Regions from separate parts of the Homo sapiens genome. Here all the other regions are linked to region 7. Evidence: promoter capture Hi-C in 16 types of primary human blood cells and fetal thymus (Javierre and others, 2016). All regions are on one chromosome and are shown on one strand. The core of a region is centred on a gene start or on the middle of the fragment in contact, and the rest is flanking DNA. Distances in the headings are between cores, read along the strand shown.

Region 1 (3,753 bases), core at 1,232-3,731, 1.9 Mb before region 7:
CGCAACAAGAGCAAAACTCTATCTCAAAAAAAAAAAAAAAAAAAAGGTGAGAGTAGTCTGTAGAAAGGTACAGTAATGGGAGAAGGTGTGACATATCCGAGAACTGCCAGAGTTGAATACACCAGGCTTTGGTTTTATCCTGGAGGTCACAGGGGGCCACTGAAACTATCCACCAAGAGAGTGGTCTGAGAAAGGTACAGAGGGGTGGACAGGGTGGGGGATGGGAGTGGGTGGGGAGTGGCGATGGCCTATCCTGGAATTCAGACCTGAGGCCAGGTTAGGAAACGAAGAAGAGGGGCCTTCAGAGGCTATCTGCATGACAGACCCAGGAGCTTTCGGGGAAAAGACCCATCCTAAGGGAGGAGAGGCAGAGTCCAGCAGATGGGCCTGGACCACCACAAAGCTCAGTCCATTTCTCTAAGGGGTGGTGAGTGGATTTCTGTATATGGCTTAGTGATATGTGTGGGAATTGGATCTTTCTACATTTTGGCCTTTCGTGGATTCTTGTCTGATTTTTGGGCTAGGGGTGGTGGTGGTAGGGCTTTGAGTAAAAATAAAAATCACAATGATTGCTAACGATTTTTGAACACTTATAACATGTCAGGAATTTACATACTTTAGCTCATTTAATTCTCATCACAGCCCCACACTGAGGGTACCACTATGGTTATCCCCATTTTACAGCTGGAAAAACCAACCAAGCAATTCATCTGAGGAGAAGCCCTCCTACCTTACTTATGTTGGGACTGGCGCATGCCGGGTAATTGACAAAGTCAACTAAAGCAGGGAGCTTTGAGAAAAATACCTACACAGGGTAAGCATTTACTTTTGGGACAATCGTCAATTTATACATAGTTATAAGAACTAACACAGGGTGATCCCACAGACTACCCCCCAATGGTAACATCTTGCAACCCTTCTTAACAGAATGCCTACTATGTGCCAGGTACTGCTTTAGGTGCTGGAGACATAGACACGGGAAACGAAACATTAGCTGACAGAAGCCACAAGAGTGAATGAGATCCTCACGGAGTGCCTTGAGTCAGAAGAAAGAAGGGTAGCAAAAGGAGCCCCAGCATTTGAGGGGTAGGAAGAAAAGCCCTAAGGAGACCTTGAAGGTCGGAAAGAGAGGAGAGGGTGGTGTCATGGAAGCTAAGGTGGACAATGGTGCCAAAAAGGAAAGAGATTCCAGTGCTTCTGAGGTCATCTGCAAGGAGGACTGGGAAGTGTCCATTGGATTTAGCAGCCAGGATGTCACAGGTGAGCAGGCAGGTAGCCCAGAAATATGGAGGGGAGCAGGACCACAGTGCAGTGAGGAGTGAATTGGGCGAGGAAGCAGCGGTAGAGAGCACTTCACAGTGAGTCTTCCAACTCATGTAGGAAAGAGGGGGTAAAGTTAGGCTAAAGGAGAAATTTTCCATGAATTTTGTCTCTAGAATGATGATTAAGAGTTAGCGAGAGTCAAGATTTCAGGCCTGTTAGAGCAAAGCCCTAAGGAAATAAGAGTTGGACCCTGGAGCACAGCTAAGTCCTGGCTGGAGGGATGGGCCTGTCTTTCTGAAAGGAGATAATGGAGGAAGAGATGCAGTTAAAGCTCTGTGGCTACTTGAAGAGGGAAGTGATTACTTCCAGCTGGGGCACTCAAGGAAGGGATACAGACATTTGAGTGCCAGGGGCATTTGAGGGTAACAGTGGAGGGGTTCAGTTGGCCAAAGTTAAAGGCAGCTGAAAGATGGCAGGAGACAAGACCAGGAAATGCAGACCAAGGTGGGTGGTGGTATGGTTGGGGCGTTGGGGTCAGATGACACATAAGCTTCAAATTCCAGCTCCCATTTGCTTCTTAGCTGTGACTCTAAAGAAGTTCCTTAACACGTCTGAGATTCCCCATCTGTAAAATGGCGACAACCCTAATAGGGTCGTTGGAGGAGAACTAGATAATGTCTAAAAAGAGCTCAGTCCGGTTCAGTGCTTGGCTCCTCTGTACCTGAGCGCTAAGTCACTAATATAAAGCCATCGGATGTGTGCTTTAAGGGAAATTAACTGGGCCACACGGTGTGAAGTGAACTGAGCTGGGAGAGGCCTGCACAGGACCTTGTACACACTAGCTACTCCGGAAACAACTGCATGCTCTGCTGGGCATCTCATACAGGATACGGTGTCTTTCCGGGGCTCACACACAGTCCCCAGTTCAGTTCCAAAGTTGGAAGGAAAGAGGATGAAGACGTAAATTCTTCATTTAAGCCTCTCGCCAACTGTTCCCTGCGGCAAGGCAGGGCAACGAGCTGCAGGGTCGCCAAGCACGTGCTTCCAAGGGTCCTCAAGGCTTTGTGAACGGCGGCCGGCCAAGGACAGAATTAACTCCAGCCTGGAGCGCGCGGGAAAGACGCGCAGGCGCACTGCTGGCAAGGGTGCTTGCCTGTGCTGGGGTGGGCGGAGCTAAACCCGGAGCGGGATGACGTCATGAGGACGCAGCCGCAGAGCGATTCGCGTCCCGGAAGCGGCGGTGGCGGCCGCGGCGTAGGCGGAGGAGATTTTCGGACCTGCGACTTCCGAACAACCCTGGCAGGAGGAGCGGCGTTCAGCCGGGGGAGGCCTGAAGAAACGCTCCGGGGCCCAGTGGCTCTACCCCTGCTCCTGCCCGACCCTGCCGCCTCCCTCACGGAGCCAGCGGCCGGGTAGGTGAGGTGCCGTCCCCCCGCGTCCCAGTGTCTCCGCAGGCTGTGTGTAGTTGGGTGCTTGGGCGCAGCGGGGGCCGCCACATGCTGGCCCCACGACCTCGGGCATGGCCTTCCCTGTCCAGCCTCACGGGCTCCATCAGGCCCCCCTGGCTGCAGAGGTGTTGGCCAAGGCCAGTGCGGGCGTCGATATACCTCGCCCCTTCCTGGGCTCATACCTGGCGCCGCTCTGTGCCCTTTCGCCTTGGCTCGGCCTGCGGGGATTTCGGGGTCCCGTTGGCCCCTTTGTCCCATCCCCTCACCCTCCCATCAGGTCGCGGCTGATTGCCTGGGACTGGTTTATGTTGCTCTTCGCCGAGGTTCCGCCCCCTCGTTTGCTGCTTAGAGTTCAGGATAGGACTTTGAACTGGGAAAGACCGTAAAGGCTCCTCGGTTTCCTCATCAGAAAGGGCAGACGGGAATGGGGCGTTCTGATGCCGACTGCCCTGGGGCAGAGATGGCCCAGGAAGTTGTTGGGAACCGAAGGGAGTGGGAAGAGTTAGAGGATCGGGCGAGAGTCCTGGAGCACGGTATTTCATTCACTCATTCAGCAGGCATTTGTTAAGCACCCACTGTGTACAGAAGCAGTCGTGAATGGAGGCCAGTTAAGAGCAGGGAGTTTTACTTTGACGTGGTCAGTGCTCTGCACTTGATCTTAGCCACAAGGCCAAGAAGCGATGTGATGTGATAAGTGCTCTGTTAGGGTGAGTACGTGATCCTTTGGGAGCATCGGAGAGGGTCTCCCAGTCCAGAGTTGGGGGTGTTGGCAGAGACTTCCCAGAGTAAGGGAGTGATGTTTAAGCTGATACCTGAAGGATGAGTAGGAATTAACCAGGTAAAGAGTGGGAGAAAAATGTTCCAGGACATCATTTCATTTCAGCCCATGGGCTGCCTCGCTGCAGCGATCATTTATGCTTGGTTTTTATGATTTTTAGTTTTGATGGATCTTTGGGGAAAAGAGCATTGGATGGAGAGTACAAAGAACAGGATTTTAGGTCTGAATAGTTCACTTTCCCTTGCTCACAGGTTTACTGTTGGC
Region 2 (3,721 bases), core at 1,101-3,600, 1.5 Mb before region 7:
AACTCGGGAGGCTGAGGTTGCAGTGAGCCGAGATCACACCACTGTGCTCCAGCCTGGCGACAGAGCAAGACTCCCGTCTCAAAAAAAAAAAAGTTTGTAAGCATTTTGGATTTCGGATTTTCCGATTAGGGATTCTCAACCTGTAGTTTTTGATTTTGGGCAAATTAGTTGACTTCTCTGAGCCTGTTTCCTAATCTCTCAAATGGAGGTAAATGGCATTATGTCACAAGGTGTCTACAAAGATGAAATGAGATGTGACCATAAATGGCTTACTAGTGCTGGGTACAAATAAAGTTCTCATTATTTTGTTGCTGTTGTTATTGATGATTATGATAATAGTGATGATGATAATTTTAGGTATTTTCCTGAAATTCCATTTATCTGTAAAATGAGGATAGTCATCCTTAATTCACAAACTTTAAAAAATACTGTAAATAGAAGTTGTCAGATTGCAGTTTGTTTTTTAGCAATTGCATTTTATATAAAAATTATATTAGATTTTTTTTCAACTTTAGAGGTTCCTAAAATGCTGTTGTGCAAGGTTATTGGGCTTTGCTGTGTTTCTGTTTTTCTAGAGATTCCAAATGTTGCTTTGTACCTAGTTTGTTGAAATTGAACTGGTGCTTCATTTACAACCTGTAGTAAGAATGCAATTCTGTACATTGTAGCTTGTAGCAGAGCAATTATCTATCTTTATGACTCAGATATTGACTAGGATAGACGTTTATGGAACAGTTTTGTCTTCCTGCCTTATTTTTATTTTTATTTTTTTTAAGCCAGACTATTAGACTTTAAAATTTAAGCTTATTGGATAGGGTCTGGGAGACTTGGTGACCTTCATTTTTTCAAGATGGCATTTCTTAGTGACTGATGCTAATGATGGCATTGGTATGTATGTATCTGCAGGGAGTGAGAGTTGAGAAAAACCAAGGAGGAAAGCCTTATAGAGAAAAATGGTTTGTTGGTCAAGGCAAAGTCTTGGAGTTTAGAATTGAAGTATATATTTTTTACTTCCTTCAAGTGCCATGTTGACTACCAGATATCTGCAGATTCAGATGCTTAGGAAATGTTTCCTTTACTCTCTTTTTTGATGTGGTATGCCTGTGCTATGTTTTGCCAGCTTCTTTCTTACCTTTAGTTATGAATCAGCAAGATAACTATTTTTTCACACCAGACTTGTATACAAAGCTATGACAATAGAAAGTCACTTCCATTAAAATCTACTTTGTATGCTATAATGTGTTAATTTTTCCTTTATGTTTTAATCTTAAACACTTTTGGCTGGGCCTGGTAGCTCACTCTTGTACTTTCAGCATTTTGAGATCCTCTGAGGTAGGCTCATTTGAGGCCAAGAGTTCAAGACCAGCCTGGGCAACAAAGTGAGACTTCATCTTTATTAAAAAAAAAAAATCAATTAAACACTTTTGTTCCTTGACTGTTTTTTACTTAAAAGGAATTTTTGGAAGGTATGCTAATTCTCATCTATAGTGTGTGAGTATGTATAGTGGATGCTCAGTAATGAGTGTGCTGAATAGTTCTGAATAGGAACATTTTGTTGATTGTCCTAGGTCACTGAGGTGCACTCTGGAGAGGCCATGTAGCATTGTGGCAATAACCTATGCTTTGGAGTCAAGACAGACCAAGGTCTGAATCCAGGCTCACTAGATGTAACTTTGGTTCATATGATCATTCTGAATTCAGTTTCTCATCATCTGGAAGACAGATTAGACTAACCCTGCATGGTTGAGAAGATTAAAGATTATTCGAATGAGGCACATATTAGCCAGGTTTAGTATAATATTAAAGATTGGGGTGGTGTTGTTATTACTATTTTTAATTTTTATTTTTTTTCTGAAAGGTATGGATTTTGTTGATACATCTATATTCATTCCCCTAATGCTTCAATGATCAGTGTGTTTCTTAGCCAAGGTTAAGGTTGTTGACTGTGACCATGGAACCTAGAAACACACAGCAAAGCTAATTGGCCAGCATGGAGTTTGAGTCTGTGACCTTGTCCTCATTAGCTCCATAAGCTAACTATTCACAAATATCTCACCAGAATGAATGAAAAGACTGGTATATTTTTTATTTGGCCCTAATGCAACTCATTAGACATAAGTAAATGAACTAGTGCCAGAAGCAAAAGTATAGATTTTTCATTAGCTTATATAAATATATGATTAGCCGTCACACTATGTATAAAACTCGTGACCTGTAGGATGATCTTTGACAACCCCAGTAACCTAAGCTTATAATTTAGACATTTCTTTTAGTTGTTGAATTATATTTGTTGTAGACTTCTCACCTATAGGAGAAGTGAGAAGAAATGGAGCTAGGCTATTCATGCCTTGAAAGAGTACCCTCCTTCTGTTGTGCTACCCACGAGGAAATGTGCTCTTCGCTAGTGCAGAAAACATTTAGAATTATCCAGTAATGAGCCCAGCAGGATGGATGAAGCTTGGGGAACTCCTAAGAGCTTATTGAATTACAGAGAAATTCCAGTTGTCAAAGCATTAGATAGAGGAAAAGTTATAGGGTGTTACTTAGCAGCAGTAAGCCTGCATTTGGAGAGAATTTTCTTTTCTCTTAATAAAACATGGACCAATTGCTTCGAGTCTGTGGTGTCCATTTTTCACTGTCTCATGCTAGCCTTCTGTATAGTTTTTCATTCTTCAAATTCACCCTTCAGTTTTATTAATATTTGTTGTCCTTCTTGTATCTTTTTTTTTAATGCCAGATATAGCTGGATTGGGACTAGGGATAAAAACAGAAGCAGAGAAGCACTGTTGGAAAACAGATTCTAGTATCTAGTATCGTGAGGTTTCCAAATAACATGGGTCAAACTGAACATGAGGATACGGATTTCTGGGATAGGCAAATGGCTGACAGTTCATGACCATTTAACCTGTGCAGAGTGAATAATGTGGGCAAAAGGTGTGTAGCACTCCTTAATATCACATTTGTCTCTTAGAAAAGAATCTGAATGCCTGTAGTGTTCATATTGGCTTGCAGTTGTGCTGTTTCAAGTTCTTTGCCATGGAATGCCAGAAGACTATTAAAGAAAGAAGGGAAGCAGTTGGATTTACATCCTGATTTCTCAAATTGTATGCCAGTCGTCCTGTTTCTGTTTTCTTGTCTTTAAAATAGGGTTAATAAAACCAACTCTGCTTGTTTATAAATATTAAAAGGAAAAGTAAACAGCAAGGATGTATTAAAAATGAGGTGGATAACTGGGGGAGAGACGGAAAGGCAGAATCCAAGAGAGGAGCTCAAAGACACCTACACACAGAGTCATAGAGACACATGCAATAGGCAGAGAGAGAGGAGGGTCAGTCAGAGACAGAGAAGTCAAAAACAGAGAGGGACAGTCACCTAGGCAGAGTTAGAAAGCAGGGTAATCAGAGATGTAGACAGACGGGCAGAGTTAGAAATGAGGGACAGACAGATACAGGGAGGGAGACAGAAAGAGTGAATGTCATGAGTAAGATGGAGAGCTTATTGGATTTTTGTCTGTTATTTGAGAAGAACATGTAAATATTTATAGTTGGCTAGGAAAGGGAAAATAAACAGATATTAATAGTAAATCAAGTAACATGAAATTTTTATTACACTAACATTTTTCCTTAAATACTAAGTTTATTTTGCATATTCAGCATGCAAATATCAAGTCAATTTATGTATTACCTGTTAACTACTTACGTGACCTCTCAGTGTAGTTTAA
Region 3 (3,465 bases), core at 622-3,121, 1.3 Mb after region 7:
CATGCAGAACGTGTTTTTATGCATTACTCTTTATCGATTAGGCATGCAAGGAAATGAATCGGATTAAATGTTTCGTAGATGTGCTCTGTTATAGTACAGAAACTTCCTAGTGTAAAAACATCCAACAGAAAGCACTAAGAGATAGGAAATAATACATGTAAAATGCAAATGTGTAAGTCATTCAACACATTTTGAGTATCATGTTTTTTTATGTAAAAAACAATGTTACGTATAGTAAATTCTCCGCTATTAGGAGCAGAAAAGTACCCTCTATTTTGGCACTTCCCTTCTTCCGCCACCATTAGCTAGTATACAGCTGTACATATGTGCTTTTGGGGTGAATGTGAAACCTGTATATTCACTGTTTACCTTCGACCCTCTACTTTGCCAGCTTTTTGTCCACTTTATTCCTTATTAATTCTTCCTCCCGGGGACTAAAGGGGAAGGGAAAAGGAGGTGAACTTGGAGTCAGTCAGGCATGCTTAGTGACCAGAACAGTTCAATTTCGTTTTTTCTAAATTTTAATTAATTAATTTATTTTTGAGACAGGGTCTTGCTATGTTGCCCAGGCTAGTCTCCAACTCCCGGGCTCAAGCTATCCACCTGCCTTGGCCTCCCAAACTGCTGGGATTATAGATGTGAGCAACTGTATCAGGCCAATAGTTCAATTTCTATACAATAAACTTGAAAGACCCGTCCAAATTATTTTATATCATTTAAGATTTTTTTCCATCCAACTGATTAAATAACTCTGTCAATTAAAGCTTGGACATCTTGAAATTGATATTTTGGTTGTTAACAGTTATTGCAACAGTATTTGACCTGTCTCTGGAAGATTTTGTAAAGAAGTAAAATTCGCTGTAGGAATCTATCTGGGGAAGAAAGGGAACTATAATTTGCTCTGTACCTGTTACATGAGAGAATCTGAACTGTGCAGTGTACACTGTTTTATCCTTTTATGGTTTACAATTACCCAGAAAAGTGAGTAAAATGCCCGTTTTACAGATGTGGAGGCTGAGGTTCAGAGATACTGACCAGTCTCTCGGTTTATAAGGAAAACCATGGCTAACAGCCTCCAGAGCACAAGCCCTTTACAAAGGAGGGTTGGAGATTGCAGGCAGCTTTTACTTATCTATGCTGCCCACGCTTAACATGGAAAACTGAAAGCTGACCTTGTGTTCCTTTAAAAAATCTCCAAGGAAGTCGGCTGCAGAGACTTCATGGTAACTCATGAGAAACAAAATGCTTTTGTGGATTAACAACTGTCTTTATTCCAATGGAGTTTTTTGGGGGTTTTTTCTTCTTCTTAAAGACAAAAAAATAATCTACCGCTGACACTCAACAAGAACCGTCGTAGAATGGACAAGTCTTCGGATCGCGCTGTGCAGATCCCTCAGCAAATTGTGACAGTATTATGGCACTTTGGCCTAAGCTGTTAAAGAGACGATGTAATGAACAGCTGCGGATTTCTGAGGCACAATTGTGTGACACAGGAAGCCCAAGTGTTGGCCATCCTCAACGAAGGCAGCTGCCGGGCTCCGGTTTGCTTCAGCAAACCCTCACCCCTCGCCTTCAACCAGGCGGGTGTCGTCAGCTGTCCGCCAGCTGCTGCCCGCGCCTTTCCGCCCCCGCGCGCCGGCCAAGGCCGAGGCGGCCGGGACCAGAGGCGCGCGCCCTCAGTGCATGTGACGGGGTGGGAGGGGGAGGTTTCTTCCTCCCCCGTCCCCAAGCCCCGCCTTCTCCAGAGAGGCTGCGGCTTCCTATTGCGCCACCACCGAAATGACCACCGTGCCAGCCAATCAAGACGTGATTCATGAAGTAAGACCCGCCCCTTACTGGTCCCCAGGTTCCTTCCCGCTCACGCCGGAGTCACTTCCGAAGAGAGAACCGCCATGAAGAGAGAAGGGGGTGCCGCCCACCTCTGCTCCGACAGCCTCCCGGAGTCCCAGCAGCAAGACGGCAACCACGCACCCAACTTCTCCAGCCACGGCTCATGCCGCCGTCGCCAGCGGCGCCGACATGACAAGGCGCTGCATGCCCGCTAGGCCAGGTTTCCCCTCATCCCCAGCCCCGGGGTCGTCGCCCCCGCGCTGCCATCTGAGACCCGGTAGTACCGCCCATGCTGCAGCGGGAAAGAGAACAGAGAGTCCTGGGGACAGGTACCGTGCAGAGGGCTTGAGAAGGGGCCGGGTCGCGGGGGCAAGGGTATGAGGGGAGGGCTGCAGACCGCCGCTCTTCCAGTTCCCGCCATCCTCCGCGAGCTCAGGCGTTGGCATTTCGGGGCCTGGCAAATCCCCGCCCCGCCTCCGCGCAGGGGCTACTGGGAGTTGGAGTTTGCTTCTCTGTAGTTGGGCAGCTGCTCTTGGTCTAGTGACCACCAGCCTGGACAGCTACGGAGAACCCGCCTTAGGTAGAAAGAAAGTGATTTTTTTCCTTTGCAAGAGTTTGACCCGGGACCCTAACTGCTTAATGCATATTTAGATCGTTTTCTGTACGTTGTCAGTTCTACTGATCCTAGTGGTTTAGTAATATAAACCTTTTCTATGTTGTGGGTGAAATTATGTAACCTGTGATGAGGGAATCCCTTCCACGAATTACTTTGTAGTCCAGCGTGCACGCTAGTTCATACTTAAAAGAACTTGCAGATTTGGAATGTGACGTGTTTTCTCTTTCAGTAACTTCACGCCTCTCCAAGAGGCTAATTTTTTTGTAAAGATTTTGTGGGAGCTATGTAATGAGATGGGGAGTTTCATCTAATGACATCCTCTGACAATAAAACATGTTTAAATTCCCTACGAACTTGGTACTGTCTTTTATTTTAAGTTAAATTGTATTAAGTTTTAACAATATTCATGTTACTAATACTGTGGTACAGGCCCACAATCCCTTATCTTAACTCTGAAAGCCAGAAAGCTATGAAAACCAAAACGTTTTCAGTAAGTTTGGCACCACATCTTACTGGGCAGCCAGATCTGACTAAAACTAATGTAAGGCTGTTTGTGGTCTTTATCCCATTAAGTGTGAATATTCATGTTTTGCTGGAGAAATGTCAGTGGATTTGATTACAGGTTGCAGCACCAGACCCCACTGGGGACTTTCCATAATACATCCAAGTTATCCCCTTCCTAAAATCTGATAAATTCAGAATTCTAAAACACATTTGGCCCCAGAAGGTTCAGATAAGGGTTTGTGAAACTGTTATAATTGTGTGTGTGTGTGTGTTTTTTTTTAAGCCAGTTGTTAAATAAGCAGTGGACATTTTGTGTGCATATGAACTTAGAGAACCTACCTCTTGAAAGTTACATTCATGGTTATTTTACAGGTTTCTTGTATGTTTTACCCAAAATCATTTTTTCTCTTTCTGGTGTATTAATCAAAAAGGAGTCTGAGGTCCAATATTTTAGGGAAGAGATACAGTGTTACATTTAGTAAAATGCATTTAGAATTATCTTGTGTGCAACAAAT
Region 4 (3,644 bases), core at 956-3,455, 1.2 Mb before region 7:
GCCCTGGCTGCAGAAATTTGCATAAATAATGAAGAGCCAAACGTTAATCACCAAGACAATGGGAAAAATGTCTCCAGGGCCTGTCAGAGGTCTTCACAGCAGGCCCTCTCGCCACAGGCCTGGAGGCCTAGGAAGAAAAAACTGTTTCAGGGGTTGGGCCCAGGGCCTTGCTGCTTTGTGCACTCTGGGGACATGGTGCCCTGCGTCCTAGCCATGGCTAAAAGGTGCCAACATATAGCTCTGGCTGTTGTTTCAGACAGTGCAAGCCCCAAGCTTTGGTGACCTACATGTGGTATTGGGCCCACGGGTGCACATAAATCAAAAACTGAGGTTTGGGAACCTCCACCTAGATTTCAGAGGATGTATGGAAATGGCAGGATGTCCAGGCAGAAATTTGCTACAGGGGCAGAGCCCTCATGGAGAACCTCTGCTAGAGTGATTAAGGGAATGTGGGGTCAGACACCTCCACACAGAGTCCCCACTGGGGCATTGCCTAGTGGAGCTGTAAGAATAGGGCCATCATCCTCTAGCCCCCAGAATGGTAGATCCACCGACAGCTTGCACCATGCACCTGGAAAAGCCGCAGACACTCAACACCAGCCTGTGAAAACAGCTGGGAAGAGGACTGTGCCCTGCAGAAGCACAGGGGTAGGGCTGCCCAAGGCCTTGGGAGCCCACCTCTTGTATCAGTGTGACCTGGACGTGGATAGAGTCAAAGGAGATCATTTCAAAGCTTTAAGATTTGACTGCCCCACTGGATTTTGGACTTGCATGGGTCCTGTAGCCCCATAGTTCCAATTTCTCCCATTTGGAATGGGAACATTTACCCAATGCCTATACCCCCATTGTGTCTTGGAAGTAACTTGTTTTTTATTTTACAGGGTCATAGGTGGAAGGGACTTGCCTTGTCTCAGGTGAGACTTCAGTCTTGGACTTTTTGGTTAATGCTGGAATGAATTATGACTTTGGGGAACTGTTGGGAAGGCATGATTGGTTTTGAAATGTAAAAGGGACATGAGATTTGGGAGGGTCCTGGGGCAGAATGATATGATTAGGCTTTGTGTCCCCATCCAAATCTCATCTTGAATTGTAATCCCCATAATCCCCACAATCCTCATATGTCAACGGAGAAACCAGGTGGAGGTAATTGAATCATGGGAGCAGTTTCCCCCATGCTGTTCTTGTGACAGTGAGTTCTCATGAGATCTAATGGTTTTATAAGAGGCTCTTTCCCCTTCACTCAGCACTTCTCCTTCCTGCTGCCTTGTGAAGAAGGTGTCTTGCTTCCCCTTTGCCTTTTGACATGATTGTAAGTTTCCTGAGGCCTCCACAGCCTTCTGAACTGTGAGTCAATTAAACTTCTTTCCTTTACAGAGTACCCAGTCTTGGGCATTTCTTTATAGTGGTAAGAAAATGGACTAATACAGGGGAGATAAAAATATTTGGTGTATATAAAGGAGCATACTCATATATTACTTGGCGGAATTATAAAGTAGTACAATATCTTTGAATGGCTTTTGACTCAACATTTTTATTTTTAGGAATTTATCCTAAATTTATCCTAGGAATTTATCTGACATGAGATAAAATTTAAGCACAAATGTTTCTTAAAGCAAGAGTGATATAGCAAATTAGGAGCAATATTTATGTCCATATGAGGAAAATGGTTAAATAAAGGATGATACACTGATTCATGTACTGGAGTACAATGTTTCCATTAAGAATTATGCTTCTGAGACTATTTAAAAAAATAGAAGAAATATCTTGATATAATGGCAAGTGGAAAAAAAAACAGGCAGTAAAACTGTAAATGTGGTATAATCCCAATTATATAGAAAAAATAAAGACCCAAAGAAAGTATATTAAAAAGCTAATAGCTCTGGGTCATGGAATTATAGGTCATTTAAAAACTATCTCTTTGTATTTCCAAATTTCCTACAATTAACTCATTATTTATATGATGAGAAAAGAATGTGTTGCACATTAACAAAAAAAAAAAACTTTAAAGACCACCTTTCCTTTACACTACTCATTTTTAGGAACTGAAAATTCAGGAGTTCGTTCCTTTGCCAGGTTTTCAATAAAGAGGAAGAGAAAGGCCACCAAATAGTTTGCTTCTTAAGTTGACATAGTTGTAACAGTAGTTTAAAAACTGAAATATTTAAAAATTCTTAATTTAAATATTATATGTATTGACTGTTAAAAAATAAAAAAGCCTAACAGTTAGCTTAAATAAAACCACTTGAATGTCTATGATCTCTGATATCTTGTGTTTGCCTAAAGACTGTGATGAGAACACGAGTGATGTTGATGGTAAATGGACTCCCTGAGGTGGAGTCAGCTCACTCATTGGCTGGATGATGAGACCCCTTAGAGCAGAAAGGGACAGAGAGGCAATCAGCCCATGCTGCAGAAATGTAAGAACACCTTCCACTGCATCCCCAGTAAAAATATTTTTAACCCAAAATTAATCTGGAAAACATTTTCAAAATAAATTACTCCTTTAAAATGTAGAGTGGAAATTATGTAAGTGAAAATGACAAGTATTTCTGAGTTGTAATGTTAAACTGTTGAACTGGATGTCCACATGCAAAAAAAAAATTATCTTCAATCCATAGCTCATACCACACACAAAAATTCAAAGTAGATCATCAGACCTGATATAAAACCTAAAACTATAAAACTTTCAAAAGAATATGTAGAGAAAACTCTTTGTAAGTTGGGCAAAGATTTCTTAGATATAACACTAAAAGCATAATCCATAAATGCAAAATGGATAAACTCGAGTTCTAATACTTCTGCTCTTTGAAAGATACCATTGAGAATACAAACACAAGCCACAAACTGAAAGAAAATATTTGTAAAACATGTATCTGATAAAGGATTCCATCCAAAATATATTAGAAGCTCTCAAAACTCAGTAAGAATAAGAAGAAGAAACAATCAACTCAAATAAAAACTGGGCAAAAGATATGGCAAATAAGCACATGAAAAGATGCTCAAAAGCATTAGTCATTAAGGAAATGAAATTTAAAACACAGTGAGATTCTAGTGAACATCTATTAGAATGGCTAAAATTAAAAAGACGGACTATAGTGTTGGTGAGGATATGGAGGAACTGAACTCTCAAACACTACAGGTGGAATCAAAAATTACACAACCACTTTGGAAAAGTTTGGCAGTTTATTAAAAAGTTACACATACACCTACATGACCTAGCCAGTCTATCCTAAGTATCTGTCCTTGGACATGAAAGCATCCATGTATACATAGACTTGTACGTGCATGTTCATAGTTGCTTTATTTGTAATAGTCAAAAACTGAAAATAACACAGATGTCCATCAACAAGTAAATGAATGAACAAATGGTGGCATCCTGATACAATAGATTACTACTCAATGACAAGGAATGAACGATTGATACATGCCACAACACAGATGAATCACAAAATAATTATGCTGAGTGAAAGCAGTCAAACCAAAACCAAACTAAATCCAAGCACATACTGTATGACTCCATTTATATAAGGCCATATGATACAAACTAATCTATCATGACAGAAAGCAGATCAGCAGTTCCTATGCGATGGGGATGGGAAAGAAGGGATTACAAATGTTTGAGGTGGTAGATATATTCCTTTTAT
Region 5 (3,759 bases), core at 275-2,774, 1.9 Mb before region 7:
AAGTTTGTGACGGCATTCCTTCTAGTACCTGGTATACCACAGACATTCTATGCATGCTGGTTGAATGAATAAATGATGAAGGGAAAGGCTGTTTGACTACCAGGGGCTATAGAATCATTGTCATTTTCATCATCACAGCCATCAACAAATCTGTGTACTTTTAAATCATAGCTTTATGATTAAAATCATAGAGGCAGCTTGTTCAGTGTCAAGCGCAGAACAGAGCACGTTCAGATGGGTGCTTTCTTTCCTCCTCACTTAAGGTGGCACTATTGTTATACCCATTTTACAGATGAGAAAGCTACACCCAAAGTCACACAGCTGGCAGGTGATGGAAGCTGGGACATGAACCCAGGCAGTCTGACCCCAGCACCCGGGCTCTCAAGCCACTGTTATTTTTGTTCCTGCCAGATGGCTGAGGAGGTCTTCTGGGGAAGGTCGGTCCCAGAAGCCTTTCGGAGGCTATCTGCTTCTGTAGATTGTGGAAGGAGCAGGGAGGGATCCAAAGTCAGGACTCCCAAGCTAGCCTCTGTACCCTCTGCACTCCACTGCCCGGTGGAGAATTGGAGCAGGTACTCACCACACTGAAGGGCAGCTCCGACAGACCTCAAATGGGGATGGGGCAAGCTAAGATGCGCCCACTCCAACCTCTTCCACAGCCTTCAGAAAGGGCAGGCGCAGCTCTGCGAAGGTGCTTACAAGGGCCAGTCGGTGATCACGGGCAGCACAAGAGCATGGCAGAGGGTATCCTGGCCGAGGTCCTAAGGCGACATCTGCAGCACGAGGAGGCCCCGGGACTCAGACGTGGCCGCTTCGCAGAACGACGGGGTCCTAAGTGGATCTGGCGGTCGCGTCCCGCTGGCACCCCGGCTCTGACTGTCGCCCTCCGGCTCCCACCGCAGCGCCGAGCTGGGCCGCCGACCTACGTACCTGGTTGCTTGAGGCAGGCCGCACGCAGCCCCAAACTGGTCCGGGCCACTTGGGTCACAGCCGCGGTTCCCGGGAGAAAGCGCTCCCTAGCCCCGGAACAGCCAATCCTCGGCCCTAGCCAGGTATGAGCTCCCAGGCGAGCCTTCCAAACCCAAGGCGGAGTTCCGTGCGCCAATCATCGGTGGGAGACAGGGAGGGGGCGTGTCCATCCCCGCCCCCCGCCTCCGCTGGCCTCGAAAGCGGAGTGCGAAGCTTCCTCAAACCTAATCGGCGGCGGAGCGGCGGTGAGGGGGCGTGTCTGCCCGGGCCCTGCCCACCGCCCTCTCCGCCCCCGCGCGGCGCCCGAGGCGCCCCCTTCATTGACGTCAGTCCCCAGGGCCAGCGCGGTTTTGCTGGCGCGGGAGCTGGGCGGGGCTGCATTCCTGCCCCAGGGTGCGGCGAAAGCTGGCCCTGCCGGGTACACGTGACGGATGCCCCTTCTCCTGGGCCCGAGGCCAGCGCGCGCGGCACTGACTGCCTTGCAGCGCGTGGCCCTCTGCAGATCCTCAGACTCTGCCGCTCAAGTCCCCTCCCAGCCCACCGTTTGGCTCCGGCTTTGAGGGAGAGGAGGGGGCAGTCTGCTGGAGTCAGACCTTGGGCTTCAAAGCCAGAATGTCGTGGGTTCAAATATTGGGTCATTTGTGCGACTTTGGGCCGGTTACCTAAACAAGACCGTATTTTAAAGTTTGTATGCATTCGGAAATGTTCATTAGTGACCTATGCTGTCCGAGTTCCTTGATAGGCCGTAAACAAGAGAGACGGAAAGACCTATAGCCCTTGTCCTGGGGAGTCTACAGCCTAGTAAGGGAGGCAGGCATTAAACAACCTAAAACATGGAGTATGTGATTACAGTTGTGATCAATGTTATGGCTATAAGAGGATAAATATGGAGGAACCTAAGCTTCCTCTGGGAGGTTCAGGAGGGCTGAAGAAGCAGCATTTAAGCTGAGATATAAAGAAGGAGTTGAAACTGGTCAAATGAAGAGGAGTGGATCTGGGGAGACTGCTTTAAGGAAAGAGGGAAAGGCATTTGGTTGGGCCAGGAGGTAGCTTGGCTCCGGAGGAATTAAATGCGACCCGGAGTAAGGCTAGCAAGAGAGAGCACGGTGGGAAGTAGAAGGCAGAGGCAGGCAGAGAAGGTTGCATGTGATCCTTGGAGGGGTTTAAACAAGGAATGGCATTATATGTACTGTGTTTATGTAACGGGCATTTTATAGTACTTACCACGTACCAGTAGTGTCAGTCAGCACTTTGCAAATTTCATCATCATGACAAGTTTGTGTTTTTAGAAGGTCACTCTGGCTGCAGTTTGGAACTTGGATTGGAGGGGGCAGGAGTGGAGGCAGGGTGTCCAGTAGGCCTCTGATAAATGCTTGTTTTGTCCTTGGAAGATGAAGTGTTTGTGCACTTGTTCAGCAATGCTCAGGAAAGGCTCCTGGGTCTCCCTGACTTCCTTTTTACTTCATAGCTGACCTCTTATCCATTTAAGCTTGATTTTTCTTCTGTAAAAGTTGTGGGTGGGAAGGGGAAGAGCCAGCACATGGGGCTTTGTGAATTCCTTGTTGCAGCGTGAAGGGGATGCTTGGGAGCTATTTGTCCTCACCCCATGATCTCCAGTTCCTCTCTCTGTCCTTCTGCACAAAAACAGCGTAAGTGTTGTTGTGCTGTGGCTAAAAGGGTTTTTTGTTTTGTATTTTTGAGACAGAGTCTCACTCTGTTGCCCAAGCTGGTGTGCAGTGGCACCATCTCAGTTCACTGCATCTTCTGCCCCCTGGGTTCAAGCGATTCTCCTGCCTTAGCCTCCCGAGTAGCTGAGACTACAGGCACGTACCACCACACCTGGCTAATTTTTGTATTTTTTAGTAGAGATGCAGTTTCACCATGTTGGCCAGACCGGTCTTGAACTCCTGACCTCAGGTAATCCACCTGCCTCGGCCTCCCAAAGTGCTGGGATTACAGGCGTAAGCCACCATGCCCGGCCGCTAAAAGGTTTTTTTGTTTGTTTGTTTGCTTTTTTTGAGACGGAGGCGCACTCTGTCGTCAGGCTGGAATGCAGTGGCACGATCTCGGCTCACCGCAACCTCTGCCTCCCGGGTTCAAGCGATTCTCCTGCCTCAGCCTCCCGAGTAGCTGGGATTATACGTGCAGGCCACCATGCCCGGCTAATTTTTGTATTTTTAGTAGAGATGGGGTTTCACCATGTTGGCCAGGATGGTCTCGATCAATTGACCTCGTGATCCTCCGGCCTCAGCCTCCCAAAGTGCTGGGATTACAGGCGTGAGCCACAGCGCCCGGCCCGTTAAAAAGGTTTTTACAGTGGCTTCTCTTCACTTTTCCTCAAGCCCTGGGGAACTGTTGAAAAGAACAAAGAAATCAGCGATGTTCGTCTCCAGTGGAAAGTATTGGTGCAGAGACTTTCAGCCAACTACTTTGCTAAGGAGGGGACTGTGCAGGCTCCTAAACCAAAGGCTGAGCTTCTGAGCCAGTGACTCCCACTGGCCCATTCTAACCAATGGGGAAGCCAGACTCTTGGCATATCAGTGCTGGGTGAACCTAGGAACTCTGATGCCATGAGCTTAGATGAGCATCCCGAGGTAGGAATTGGGAACTTGTGGTTTCTGGCTCAGATGTGACTAAGGCTGGGTGGAGCGTATCTGGTATCTCCAAACATTTTTGCAGGCATGTGACCATGTGCTTACCACACAATGGAACCATTTCTGTTGTTACAGCTTTGTGATTCAATACTTCTGGCGAGAAGGTGGGGCACTCCACAGTTGTGTGGGCCATGTA
Region 6 (3,678 bases), core at 1,032-3,531, 1.2 Mb before region 7:
AAGTGAGGTGCTGGAGATGGCTCCCACCAGCCCGGGGAGTTTGTGAGCCGGCTGTCAAACAGCCATTGATATAAACTAAATTATATAAGCTTACAATTAAATAAATTAAAAACAAAGGTAATAAATACTCAAAACACACTACCTCCTATTTGTTTTACTACATTTGACTGTTGCCCATGCCCTGGCAGTCACTGGCCTCTATGTACATATCTGCATGGTGGACACACTATACAATGATGTGCTACTGGGTATCTCTCCTAAATCACATTGAGCAACCTCATCTTGGTAACAGAAAAGGCTATGGTGGGAGTATTTACACCACTGTCATCAGCAAATATTACACAGAAGGGCTGAATTTATTTTTTGTGGTCAGGCTTAAGAAAGTGATGGGAAAATGCTAATAATGCAGATTAAACCTAACAGTGTTAGCTGTTATAGCATGAATAAATAGCACAAAAATTGAAGGAAATATTCTAGTATTAGAACAATATTATCTTATTTGAGTAACATCATTCCTGTCATTTAAAGAAGGAGGCCGGGCGCAGTGGCTCACACCTGTAATCCCAGCCCTTTGGGAGGCTGAGGCAGGTGGATCACAAGGCCAGGAGTTTGAGATCAGCCTCGCCAACATGGTGAAACCCCGTCTCTACTAAAAATACAAAAATTAGCCGGGCGTGGTGGTGGGCGCCTGTAGTCCCAGCTACTCGGGAGGCTGAGGCAAGAGAATCGCTTGAACCCAGGAGGCGGAGGTTGCAGTGAGCCGAGATTGCGCCGCTGCACTCCAGCCTGGGCAACAGAGCAAGACTCCATCTCAATAAATGAATAAATAAATAAAATAAAAATAAATTTTAAAAAATAAAGGAGTAAGGTTGGGACATAAATCTTTGTTGTTTCATTTGTTTCACGATCATCCTACTCTTTACAGAAAATATGGAGCACCGTTCTCTTTGGAGCTACCCTCATTTGTCATTTGCAACTATAGGTTGGCTACTGAGTTTGGCAAAAATCAAAGAAAGCCTTTGGTAAGAATCACTCGGGTAGACTGCATTTAAATTGAGAGTATTGTATCTTTATTTGTAAAATTGTGTGCAGTGTATCTTTTATTTCAATATTTAAAATAAGCATGTGTATATGTGTATATATATGTACGTAACACATATACATATATATACACATATATGTGTGTATATATACATATATATACATGTACACACACACATACATCACACATTTTTCCCTGGAGAGGTGAGTGTTGAGTATCTACCAGCTCGCAACTGCTCTAGTACATATGAAAATGAAGGCATGCCCTCAAAGCTGCATGTTGAGTGCCGTCTGCTTTCGGTCCCGTCATTATCTCTGTATAGACCCAGTTGGCAATCATGCATTTGGGGCCCTCTGCAAGTGTGAAAGGAAGGCACTAAGGAAAGACCACCTGGTCCTGGGCCTGCCTCTTCCCCTAGCACCCAGTAGACTGTGATACTCTGAGCCCAGGGGTTGGCAAAGTGTGGCAGATCACTGCAGATCCCCAAATGTCCCAGAGCTGCAAGGCAATGGGGTCCATCTCCCTCTGCAGACACGCAGTAGGAACTCTGGGACTCAGTTCTGTTTTATCCTAACTGGCCTTTATGAAATGACTGCAGTTTCTTGTGACGAGGGGTGGCCTCAGTGGTAAGGTAGTGGTGACCAGAACTCAGGGCACTGAGGGGGCGGGGTGCTGGATTTCACTTGTCTGTTGGCCCAGGGCTCTTTCCAACCCTTACAAACCATAGGCTGAGAATGTGGTGGAAACTAGGTCACTTTGCAAGAGATATAGGGAAACCCCTGAGCTCACCTAGTCTTCCTGTCATTCTCCATGGGAAGATCCAAGCCCAGAGAAGGCAAGCATTTGCCCCAGGCCACACAGCAGAGCCAGCACCGGAATCCCAGGTGCCTGCCTGCCAGATGGAAGGGCTTTCCATTGCAGCCCCTGCTAGCGTATAAACTTCTGGCTGGGTTATGCCAGAGGAGAGAGCAGTGGGGCTTGGCTCCCCCTCCCCCTCCCCACCAAGCTCTGAGCAGGGCTGTCTTCCCGCCCCTCAGCTCTGGCCCGGCCTGCTTTACCACTTTACCTGCTCCTATCACCACCGCATCATACTCAGGCTTCAGACCTCCCCTGGCTTCCGTGTTATCTCGTCTCCACGCCGGGAAGGGAGAGGCGGCCACAGCCTTGCAGAGACCTCGGCCACTTGCAGCCATTTCTGCCCCAGGCTGGGCCTTGCTAGGCAGGGAGTTTGCTAGCGATTGGCTTTTGTGCTGCCCTAGGCACGGGGTGGAGCAGGGAGGAAGCAGGAAGAGGAGGAGCTGCAGTCCCCCTCCAGGCCCCCTCCACCATGCATTCTTGGCCACAGGCCAGCCTCCTGCTGCCCTGGGGCTGTGCTGGGCCGTCGGGAGTGTTGCCTATTAACCAGGCGGTGTCACCTCCAGGATGCAGGGGATAATGGCAAAACTGACAATCCACTGGGGTTCCTATGTCAGGCTGGCATTGTGCTGAACCCTGTAGGCAAAACTCCCCATTTTACAGATGAGGGCGCTGAGGCTGCGGGGTTAGGGAATGAGTGGTGGAGGCAGAGTGGAGCTCGAAAGGGCCCTCTCCTCCCCTGTGCATCTACCTTCTCAGTCAGAACTGAAACGCCTGGGATGGCAAGTGCTCGTGTCAGACTCTGCTCCAACTCCATGCTGAGTCTGCCAGTGCAGAGTGGTGATGCCTCTACGCCCACAGGAGGCGCCCAGGGCGGCCATCTAGCGTCACCACGACCAGGGCCTTCAGACACCGCAGAGGCAGCTGTGTCTGTCGCTGAGGAGCACTGGAGTCCTCTCCTAAATGCTCAAACACAAACCCACAACGAGGGCTTAGGGGCAAGTTCGCTGTCTGTAATTCTCTGGTGTTTTAGTTTTGAAGGCCTGGCCAGTTCTCCTCTTTTGGCACCTTGCCCATTTTCCAAGAATCCCCAAGGATTCGAGGTCACATCTGTAAATACCTCCAGCTAAAGTTCTTTCTGACCCTCCCTTAGGCCTGCCTTGAATTAGGAGCCCCTTTGTTCTCTGCCCATTACTTAGCAGAGTGTTCCCCTAGGAGGAAAAAACCCCTTGGAGCGGAGAGTTCCTGCACTGCTCTGATATCGCAGTGTGACGGAAACCTGCTATTGGTAACGAATCTCAGAACTGGGAGAGTATGTGGAGATGATCCTAAGAGGGGGTTCCGAGGACCCCTCCACACACCATGGACAGTTACCCCGCATGTGAGCATCTCTGCTAAGATCTGATTCAGGATGTTCACTCCTGTGTTATTTATTATATAGAAAGATCAAGGGGACTGGTTAAACTAGACATATCACATCCAGCCGCTGCTAAAAACTAAAGGGAAATAGTAGGTGACAAAAGCAGGGGTCCTGAACAGTGGTGGGCTCAGGGGATTGGAGTTTTTTCCTTTATGTTTTTCTGTATTTTCCACAATCCACGCTTTTCATTGCCATTCCATCAGATGATGTTAAGGAGGAACACAGATCCAGTCACCTGAGGGGATACTTCCTCACTGCCACCTTCTCAGGGTTTAGACCAACATGTGGGTTCTAGTTCCCCCAGCCCCAAAGCTGTTCCCTGCAAGGAAGAGATCAGTCTTTGAGCAAATTTTGGCTCAAG
Region 7 (3,643 bases), core at 11-2,510:
GGTTCCTGCCCCGTCAGTAAGGGAAGATACAGCAAGGAGTTTGTAAAAGCACTAGCCCAGAAAACATCTCAAGCCGTTAGATCCATTTCAGGGTCTGGTTCACGCCAGTTGGCTTCACCTTAATCGAGTTAGTAGCACTTACCTGAGCTTCGGGATACCCCATCCCACCCTATTCCTGTTTAGTCCCAGGTGGGGTCCAGGGCTTTGGCTGACAGATTTTCGATCCTGAGTCCCGATTCAGATTTCACTGACGGTTAGAAATAGGTCCTGGTTCCTGACTGGGATCAACTCCCAGCTGGGACCTTGCTTGAATGGAGTGTCGGTTCGAATCATGTGGTAGTGGCAGGAGCCAGGAAGGAACCCATGTCGGCTCCGGCTCTCAGCCGGGATCCTGGCTCCGGACAAGACCCAGGGGTCGGGTCAGCCCCAGGTCGGGTTCGAAGCCGGGTGCAGGTCTCACCTTGACGCAGTCGATGGGGTACATCACGCAGTGCTCCAGGATCCCTGCCACGGCGCCTGCCACCATGTGCGTGGTGACAGTGGCTCCAGCCGGCAGCGCCTCGTAGTCCGGGCCGGAGTCCGGATCTTGTCGTACCGGGGGCCTGCAGGCCCCGGCCTCCCCGCCGCCGGCCCCCCGGCCCACGCCCCGCTGCAGCCACCCGTCCAGCAGCGCCGACTCCCCGGGGCTCCGCCCGGGCCCTGCCGCCGGCCCCCCCGCCACACCGCCAGCACCCCGCCCCTCCAACTCCATCCACCCGGGCCAGCTGCGGCGCCCACCCCCGCCGCCGCTGCCACCACTGCCGCCGCCGCCCCCCGGCCCCGTAGTGTCCGCCTCAGGCGCGGCCCAGAGAGCCCGGGGCCTCCGGCTCCCGCTTGGCCCCGCGGACACGCCCCCCAAGCAACCATTGGTGGAGACGCCAAGTTAGACCCACCCCTTTCCTTACGTACGAAAAATCAGCCGGTAGTATTAGCGAAGTCGCCTGTCATTCCTCCGCCCTGAGGCGTTGCTAGCGCCTACATCCCACCTTTTCCCCTTTGATCTTAGAAGCTTCTTGTTTATTGGTCACTGATTGGCCGACATGTGCGATCAACCCGCCTCTGACTTTTAGAAGGGCGGGAGAAACTTAAGGCTGAACTTTGATAGGCTCAACCACTCTTGATACTTTGACCGCGGCCATTGGCCCGCACCACGTCGGTCCCCGATTGGCTACAGAAAGAGCGACGCGCCCAGGGACTCTAGGGGCCGACTTCGGGCCCCTCACTAGCGCCTGCAGAGCTGCGGTCCCTGTGCGCGGGATCGCGTCGGGGGCGGGGCGGCGACAGGCCTTCAACGTCAAACTGCTGACGGGCGCCGTTACGACCCGCGCTCCCGTGCGCTCCTCAAATTCTGAGACGCGTGGCTGGAGAGCGGGCGGCCCTGGCCCCGGAGAGCCGTGTTCCCGCGGGATCTCGTCGCGGGCGTGAGGCGGGGCCGGCCTGGGCCGGTCATCCCTGGCTGGCGCGACCCGCAGCCTGTCCGGGAAGCCGTTGCGACATGCGGGCTGGGAACCGCCTCACCTCCAGGGGGGACCGCGGCGGCCCGCTAGACTCTGGTCGGGTCTGGAGTATTGGGCCCTCTGGCCGGACTCGGTGCTCCTCAGGCCCCAGCGCCCGGCACTGAGCCTCGCATCCACATTCGCAGAGTAAACCCAACAAGTGTTGAATGAATGAGGTTCCCCGGGCCCCGGCTGTCACTGGGCTCTGCGCCAGGCCAAGAGCCGAAGGCGGGGGAGGAAGATGTCGAAATGGGCGGGATGATTCACAGATGACGGCCGGTGGCGAGGCGGGGCTGGAGGCCGCATCCCAAAGGCAGCAGGGAAGTGCGGCGGCTGTGGGGAAGCTCGGACGCACGGCCTGGCCGAGTCTGAAGCATCAGTATTTTGTCCCTGAGCCGGCGCGCTGATGGGTCCCCCGCCTGGCGATGAGGGCTTCTCCCTCCCTCGGGTCAGCCCGGGTCCTGAGAGGCAAGGCCAGCGATTCCCGGCCTTAGGACCTCCTGCTCTAGGGAGCACGGGCGTCTTCTTCCATTTGCCTTCCCCGAGCGTGTTGGCACAAGCTGCCCGCGGTTTCCAGCTCTGTCTTCTCTGTTTTACCCAGATGATGCAACTGTGGACTTCTCCATCTGTTCATAGGTTTTCCTTGGATAGGAAAGATGTTTTCCTTTTTTCTTTCTAAAGTTTAGCTCTTCTCTGGGCTTCCTTTTTAAAAACTTTTTCTACTCTCTTCAGCAGTTGTTATTAACCTTTAGGTCGCGACCGTTTGGAAAATAATAAAACTACGAATTCTCTTCTCCTACTTCCACCTCCCATCCCCTGTGTGCACTCAAAATTTTGCATATCATTTCTGCGTTTCAGAGTCCCTGAAGGTGCCATGTGGACACCCTAGGGGTCCATTAACCTGGTTAACCTCTCCCTGGCCGGCGCAGTGGCTCATGCCTGTGACCCCAACACTGTGAAGGCCGAGGTGGGACGATTTATTGAGCTCAGGAGTTCGAGACCAGCCTGGACAACATGGCAAAACCCCGTCTCTACAAAATAATAAATACAAAAAAGTACAAAAATTCAAAAATTAGCTGGGTATGGTGGTGTGCACCTGTAGTCTCAGCTACTTGGGGGAGGATTGCTTGCGCCAGGGAGGTCGAAGCTGCAGTGAGCCGTGTTCATGCCACTACACTCCAGCCTGGGTGACAAAGCAAGACTTTGTCTCAAAAAAATTTTTTTAAAAGGAACTTCTCCCCCACAGCATGTTCAGTCTCTCCTTTTCTCTAGCATATTTAGCTTGAGAAATGAATAGGTCTCACAAAAACCCATTCAATCCTGCTAGAGTACTAATTCCCTTTACTGCCAGATTACTCCACTAATGACCTATCCACCTCTATGTCCTTTCTCTCCTTAAGCTCTTTACATTTTTCACTCTTTTATTCATTGGTCATAAATGACCTTTCCAAATCCATCGGTCTTTTTCCTATTCCCGTTTTTCTTAACAGAGATAACACTTGCCGCCACACCACATTGGCACTTTTTACTAGCTTCAGAAACCACTCTACCTTTTAGACATCTCAGTCGCTTACACTTCTCTAGCCATTGAAGTGGAACATCCCTAAACGTTTAATGCTTCTTGGTCATCTTTAATACCTTAGAGAACTTTGCCATTCCAAACCAGTTGTCCTCATTGGAACCCTATCTTTATTTCCCTTATTGCATACTTTTAACTGAAATTTCCATGGGAACATTCAGTAATGTTTATTGTGTACCAACTGTGTACTTGAAGCTGGGGATACAGGACAGACATAGTCCATGTTCTCATGGAGCTTTTTAATGATGAGGGTGGGGAGGTGGGACAGAGAAAAATACACACAAAAAATGTCAGCTCTGGATGCTATGCTGACCTTTGAAATAGGGTGGTATGATATAGTGTGACTGGGTGGCTACATTTGTATGGCCAAGGAAGGCCTTTCTGAGGAGACGACATGTATGGTGAGTTCTGAATGATAGGCAGGAGCCAGTCATGACAGACTTGGAGAAGGGCATGCCAGCAGAAGGAACAGTAGGTACGACAACCCTAAGGTGAGAACAAGGTTGGTGCATGAGGAACAGAAAGAAGG

The links. The method cuts DNA at HindIII sites, captures the fragments that hold promoters and counts their contacts. A CHiCAGO score of 5 or more calls a contact.
Region 1: a contact is called between the fragment with the promoter of ZFYVE27 here and the fragment with the promoter of SLC25A28-DT in region 7, in 2 of 17 cell types (non-activated CD4 T cells and naive CD4 T cells). The highest score is 6.4, in non-activated CD4 T cells.
Region 2: a contact is called between a fragment that was not itself captured here and the fragment with the promoter of SLC25A28-DT in region 7, in 3 of 17 cell types (total CD4 T cells, fetal thymus and naive CD4 T cells). The highest score is 7.9, in total CD4 T cells.
Region 3: the fragment with the promoter of SLF2 here is called in contact with the fragment with the promoter of SLC25A28-DT in region 7 in 1 of 17 cell types (fetal thymus); the score reaches 6.1 in fetal thymus.
Region 4: a fragment that was not itself captured here is called in contact with the fragment with the promoter of SLC25A28-DT in region 7 in 4 of 17 cell types (activated CD4 T cells, non-activated CD4 T cells, total CD8 T cells and 1 more); the score reaches 8.8 in activated CD4 T cells.
Region 5: a contact is called between a fragment that was not itself captured here and the fragment with the promoter of SLC25A28-DT in region 7, in 5 of 17 cell types (fetal thymus, total B cells, non-activated CD4 T cells and 2 more). The highest score is 6.7, in fetal thymus.
Region 6: the fragment with the promoter of PYROXD2 here is called in contact with the fragment with the promoter of SLC25A28-DT in region 7 in 4 of 17 cell types (naive CD8 T cells, non-activated CD4 T cells, total CD8 T cells and 1 more); the score reaches 12.4 in naive CD8 T cells.

The regions. Positions count from the first base shown.
Region 1 is chr10:97,734,647-97,738,399 of GRCh38, forward strand. ZFYVE27 (zinc finger FYVE-type containing 27) reads left to right here and starts at 2,482. Exons shown (of 13, transcript NM_001385875.1): 1 at 2,482-2,675. RefSeq lists an enhancer at 2,198-2,347 and a silencer at 2,678-2,747. The HindIII fragment of the contact is 3,622 bases long and covers 1,812-3,753 here.
Region 2 is chr10:98,137,131-98,140,851 of GRCh38, forward strand. The region is part of intron 1 of R3HCC1L (R3H domain and coiled-coil containing 1 like); the gene reads left to right. Among named protein-coding and RNA genes, the nearest start is that of R3HCC1L, 4.3 kb to the left of the region's middle. The HindIII fragment of the contact is 209 bases long and covers 2,247-2,455 here.
Region 3 is chr10:100,911,092-100,914,556 of GRCh38, forward strand. SLF2 (SMC5/6 complex localization factor 2) reads left to right here and starts at 1,872. Exons shown (of 20, transcript NM_018121.4): 1 at 1,872-2,159. The coding sequence starts at 2,020. RefSeq lists a silencer at 1,392-1,661 and enhancers at 1,882-1,951, 1,972-2,021. The HindIII fragment of the contact is 2,989 bases long and covers 763-3,465 here.
Region 4 is chr10:98,438,740-98,442,383 of GRCh38, forward strand. All of the region lies in intron 3 of HPS1 (HPS1 biogenesis of lysosomal organelles complex 3 subunit 1), which reads right to left. Among named protein-coding and RNA genes, the nearest start is that of HPS1-AS1, 5.8 kb to the right of the region's middle. The HindIII fragment of the contact is 2,948 bases long and covers 732-3,644 here.
Region 5 is chr10:97,686,186-97,689,944 of GRCh38, forward strand. AVPI1 (arginine vasopressin induced 1) reads right to left here and starts at 1,056. Exons shown (of 3, transcript NM_021732.3): 1 at 581-1,056. RefSeq lists enhancers at 193-1,146, 880-2,079, 1,147-2,100 and a silencer at 1,043-1,422. The HindIII fragment of the contact is 688 bases long and covers 1,181-1,868 here.
Region 6 is chr10:98,412,901-98,416,578 of GRCh38, forward strand. It overlaps PYROXD2 (pyridine nucleotide-disulphide oxidoreductase domain 2), which reads right to left and starts at 2,282. Exons shown (of 16, transcript NM_032709.3): 1 at 2,109-2,282. The coding sequence starts at 2,235. HPS1 (HPS1 biogenesis of lysosomal organelles complex 3 subunit 1) reads right to left here. Exons shown (of 20, transcript NM_000195.5): 20 at 3,298-3,678. The HindIII fragment of the contact is 3,850 bases long and covers 88-3,678 here.
Region 7 is chr10:99,619,585-99,623,227 of GRCh38, forward strand. SLC25A28-DT (SLC25A28 divergent transcript) reads left to right here and starts at 1,261. Exons shown (of 1, transcript NR_186534.1): 1 at 1,261-2,334. It overlaps SLC25A28 (solute carrier family 25 member 28), which reads right to left and starts at 855. Exons shown (of 4, transcript NM_031212.4): 1 at 461-855. The coding sequence starts at 751. RefSeq lists enhancers at 81-663, 1,247-1,829, 1,830-2,411 and silencers at 546-705, 1,436-1,595. The HindIII fragment of the contact is 4,603 bases long and covers 1,047-3,643 here.